Linked DNA regions of Homo sapiens: region 2 is linked to region 1. Evidence: promoter capture Hi-C in human tissues and cell types (Jung and others, 2019). All regions are on one chromosome and are shown on one strand. The core of a region is centred on a gene start or on the middle of the fragment in contact, and the rest is flanking DNA. Distances in the headings are between cores, read along the strand shown. Region 1 holds the start of RANBP3L (RAN binding protein 3 like). Region 2 has its middle 69 kb from the start of RANBP3L.

The links. Contacts are between HindIII fragments. The study calls those that stand out against the background at their distance.
Region 2: a fragment that was not itself captured here is called in contact with the fragment with the promoter of RANBP3L in region 1 in 2 of the 25 tissues and cell types used here (dorsolateral prefrontal cortex and liver).

What each region holds. Positions count from the first base shown.
Region 1 is chr5:36,300,537-36,303,207 of GRCh38, reverse strand. RANBP3L (RAN binding protein 3 like) reads left to right here and starts at 1,306. Exons shown (of 14, transcript NM_145000.5): 1 at 1,306-1,882. The coding sequence starts at 1,792. All of the region lies in intron 1 of LOC124900962 (a long non-coding RNA gene), which reads right to left. The HindIII fragment of the contact is 10,640 bases long and covers 1-2,671 here.
Region 2 is chr5:36,369,137-36,371,807 of GRCh38, reverse strand. No RefSeq gene overlaps it. Among named protein-coding and RNA genes, the nearest start is that of RANBP3L, 69 kb to the right of the region's middle. The HindIII fragment of the contact is 7,235 bases long and covers 1-2,671 here.

The DNA.
Region 1 (2,671 bases), core at 57-2,556:
TCTATGAGTTGATAATATTGAAGCCAAGTGATGAGTATGCAGGGCTTATTGTGCTATTCTCTCCTATTCATGTATTTTTAAATTTTTTCATCATAAAACATTTTAAATGTATTTCTCAAAAGGGCTGGCTTACAGTTTTGTAGGTTATTTAACTTACCTGTATAATAATATGCTTATTAGTGAGGTACATAACTTGATAGAATAACAATAACTTTACATATTCAGGAAAAATCACCTTGTCTCTCCACCATGGCTTTTGTGGAAGATGAGATGAATAGCAGACATTTAAAGTAGAAACTATGACTCTCCAATAACAAGACTCTCTTTCAAAGTAGCACAACACTTCTGTCATCTGTTACACTGTGATTAGCCTAAAACTGCAGTAGATAGACTACTGAAACAATTAAAGCATTCAAGAATTATAAAAGATCAATCACCTACTTCATAAAAATTTTCATAAACCAGACTATACTTGGGGAATTGTTAATTGCCTCAAAGTAAAATGAGGGCAGCCACCCAGATCTGGTTAGGAGGTAAATTCATTACAGTGTCAAGTTTAACACCAATTTCCAAATGCACATAAGAAGCTGCAGAGTCCAGACTTCGAGGCTAAACAGCTCTGCCTTTCTCCTTAGTCCTGCCCACTACCTTCTTTCTGAATCTGCGAAGAGCTGTGACTCTTGAAGGGCAGGACCTACCAGCATTCATTATGACTTCAGTTATGGCAAGCTCTCAAGTTAAATTAATGGTGTTTGGGGTTTATGTTTCCAAACAGTAAGGAAATAGCCAACGAGTAAAACTGGAAATTACTTTCTCCTATGACCTAGAAGTAGCAATAAGAACTCTAAGTGGGAAACAGAAATAGGACTCTGGAAAGATAATGTTTTGTGTGTTTATTTTTCTTCCAGAACTCCAAATAGTTGCCTTGGCAGGAAGGCTGCCCTCTAACTGCTCCCTTCCGAAGACTAGGAGGTGTTTACAGAAATTGAAAGTTCCAGCAGTACATTTCCATGAGCTCATTACCAGTTCCATTTATACCTTTTAGATTTCACATGCACAAATGAATGTCCTTGCAGTATAAACTCCTGCTTTCAGCTTGCATTTTAATTACAAACAAAGTAGCAGAAATCAGGTACTCAGTTACTGTAACATAAGGGCAGGGCATCTTTAGAATCTGTGCTTTGTTCACTATTATTCAAAGCAGCTCCAATGCCCGTCTTGCCTGCCTCTTTATGCTAATCATCCTAGCCCACTTTGCTCCTCCTCCTTCCAGAGTCCCTTAAGAACTGTACACTTTCAGCTGTCACAGAGGGTAACTCAGATCAGGCTTAGAAATCACTTGACTTAACTCAGCAGCACTTTTTCTTTTCTTTGTGTCTGTATTATTTTAGCAGCCTTCTCTAAATACTGGAGGCATTGGATTTCATGTCGCCAAAAGGAATTTAAAAATGACAAAAGTGTAATCTGTTAGAAATAGTTAATTTGTAGAATTTTACTCTATAAGGAGGTTTAGTTTCAATTTGTTTTGAAATGAAGGAATTAAGTTGTGTTTTTAACCAAATGAATTGGCATCTTTATATTTAGGAGAAGTAACATTGGTGATTATTTATTTCAAGAATCATGACTGGAAAAAGCTTGGAAGTTTAGTAGAGGAGTATATGTTGTACATGCAAAGACAAGATCTGCATGAATCTATGTATTTCTGGGTGTCTGGTGAAGGCCACTTTAGGTGACTGGCCAGAGAAGGAGGTGCCCTAGTGATCCTTGAGTCACAGCCATACTGCTAGGACCATGACTACCATACCAAGAAAAGGCAGCAGCCACCTGCCTGGCAGTTTGCACACCTGTAAACTGAAGCTGCAGGAGGACCGGCGACAGCAAGGTGAGTCCGTCCAGCTCATGAGTTGCATATTCTGTGACCTTCTGTGCATTTGCATTCCAGGAAGAATGGTGGGCTGGTGAAGGACCCGGGGAAGCTCTGACATAATAGTGATGCATAAGGGTGGGTTAACTTGGATTCACTATTGATTTTTAGAGGACTATGGAAGACTGTCAAGAATGCATATTCCTTGGAGCTGTCATTCTGAAACTTACATGCTTAAACTTCTAGCCACTGTGTTTTTTAGAGTATGCTAGATTTTGTCTAATTCAAAACACCCATCTGAGCAAGGCTGAGTCAGCTACAAGGGGGATTTCAGCTGAGAGTAGCTTTAAGTTAGCCTGGAGCTTTCTCTACCATAGTACCACTGGTGGGACACTTTTTTCACTTTGTTTAAGCCTAAGTTTGTCTGGATCTCTGGCTCATTCATTGTGGGAAAAATAAATATATTCTTGACTCTTTCCTTTTTATGGTCCAGGGACATCTGGAGACAGTCAGGGAAAAGTGTCACATTTCACTTGCTGGGCACTCATTCAAACTAAACTATCTACCTCCCAGCCATTTTCACCATCAGTCTTTTTAAATTTTCAAATCCACTCTCCAGCCAGCTGAGTTAGTGTCAGATGGTTGACATGAATAGACAAGATGATCCCTCCAATCCACCCTGTCAGGGACAGCAAATGACACTTGTGGGAAAGGCTGGGTCTCTCATGGATGACATCATCACTCCACAGAGGTTAAGGATTCACCAGACACTTCTAACTTCTCCTCAATAACCTAGGATAGATCTTT
Region 2 (2,671 bases), core at 101-2,600, 69 kb before region 1:
ATTAGCTGCCTAGGCCTCCTTAAATGCTCCAGCCTTGGGTTTGACAGTCTAGATAGTGCCCCCATAAAATGCTAAAAGCTGAAATGTGAAGTGCTGCACATAATATTTAGCTTTTAACAGATGTACACCATTCTAAATACTACGGGAACATAGGGCATCAAGATAGTTTATGGGGAAATGATTTATGCGCAGACGTGAGTGGTCATTCACCCTACAGGGCAGCCACCTGGCCTGTCATCTGTGCAAGGGGCAGATCCTGGCATACCGATTATAATCCATTTAAACCGAGTTCATCTGGGGTTTTCATGTTCCCTTGATCATTCTGAAGATATATTGGCTGTCTTGCACTATTTTCGTTTCTAACATACAATGGAAGAGAAATAACTGAAAGAGCATATGTCACAATGTCAATAGTGCTTACATTTAGATGTTGAGATAGGAGTGTTTTTAGCATTTCCCTCTTACATGTGTCTATTTTTAAATTTATCTTTATTGACAATATATTATTTTTATAATTTTAGAATACTTAAAGTATTACTTCACTTGTTCTCTTTTGTGTTTATATATATTTCAATTGTGTAAAGCTGAGCTGTCCAGTAGTATCCACTAATAGCATGTGAGAACTTAAATGAATCAAGATGAAATTCGCTATAAGGAACTTAAACAAATTAACACGTGAAAAACAAATGACCCCATTAAAAAGAGGGCAAAGGACATCAAGAGATAATATTCAAAAGAAGACATACATGCTGCCAACAAGCAAATGAAAAAATGCTCAACATCTCTAATCATTAGAGAAATGCAAGTCAAAACCACAGTGAGATACCATCCCATCCTAGTCAGAATGACCGTTATTAAAAAGTCAAAAAATAACAGATGCTGGCAAGGTTGTGGAGAAAAGGGAACACCTATACACTGCTGGTGGGAATTTAAATTAGTTTATCCACTGTGGAAAGCAGTTTGGCAATTTCTCAAAGAACTTAAAGCAGAGGCTGGGCGTGGTGGCTCATGTTTGTAATCCCAGCACTTTGGGAGGCCGAGGCGGGCAGATCACGAGGTCAAGAGATTAAGACCATCCTGGCCAACATGGTGAAACACGGTCTCTATTAAAAATACAAAAATTAGCTGGGCATGGTGGCACGCACCTGTAGTCCCAGCTACTCGGGAAGCTGAAGCAGGAGAATCGCTTGAACCTGGGAGGCGGAGGTTGCAGTGAGCTGAGATTGTGCCACTGCAGTCCAGCCTGGTGACAGAGACTCTGTCTCAAAAAACAACAACAACAACAACAACAAAACAAAAAACAAAAAAAACAGAACTACCGTTTGACCCAGCAATCCCATTATTGGGTATATAACCTAAGGAATATAAATTGTGCTACCATAAAGACACATGCACATGTATCTTCATCGCAGCACTATTCATGACAGCAAAGAAATAGAATCAACATTAATACTCTTAACAGTAAACTGGATAAAGAAAATGTACATATACACCGCAGAATACTATGCAGCCATGAAAAAGAATGAGATACTATCCTTTGCAGGAACATGGCTAGAACAGGAGGTCATTTTCCTAAGTGAACTAACACAGGAAGAGAAAACCACACACCACATGTTTTCACTTATTAGGGGGAGTTAAACACTGAGTACATATGGACACAAAGAAGAGAACAAGAGACACCTGGGGCTACCTGAGGGTGGAGAGTGGGAGGAGGATGAGGATAAAAAAACTACTTGTCAGGTTCCATGCTCATTATCTGGGTGACAAAATCATCTGTACACCAAACTCCCATGACACACAATTTGCCTATATAACCAACCTGCACATCTACCCCTGAAACTAAAGTAAAAGTAAGCAAAAAATGAAATCCAATTAAAATGCAGTTCCTCAGTCACAGTAGCCATGTTTCAAGTGCTCAGTAGCACATAGAGCTAGTGGCTAGTATTTTGGACAGTGCAGAATAGAATATTTCTATTAGTACAGAAAATTCCACTGGAAAATTCTGGTGTAGAGTGTGTAGGTTTTAGCCATTTGAATATAAAGATAGAGACTTGCAGGTGGTGAAGAGTTATGTGCTGCAAACAAAGATTTGAAAAGAGCAACTGTCTGAGTTCTTTGTGATCCAAATGCAGTGGTATTGATTACTCATTGAAGGGAGACCTTGTTATGCTCACCAGTGTCCTTGGAAGGGTGCTTGATGAGGGAAATGTGTCCCTGAAATTTTATGGTTGCAGAGGCTGATAACTGAGTTTAGCCTCCTGAGACTTTTTACAAGGCAATCTGAAAAGCCTGGGCAAAATGCCCACCATGATGTGTCACTCCTAGGACCTAACTTGCTATAGGAAATTCCCATAGGCTTACCTGAAATCAGATTCCCTATTTCCTATTCCCATCAAAAGGCTTTTAGCGTCTATTCTTGGATGACTCCCTTTTGCTAAACTACAGGATAACCTAATGCTAAAGCAAATTTATTGGGCAACCAGCCCAGGAGGTCATGCTCAGTAACTTGTCCAGGCTTTTCTTTGAAAGACTTAGGGACTAAGTGACCTTTGACACAACAGAGCAAAATGTAAGCAGCTCTACTTGCTCTGTAATTATCAAAATTTGTTTGGTTTCAAGATGAATCCTCAAACCCACATTCTGGTGGCCTAAGGAACGCATCACATCTGCC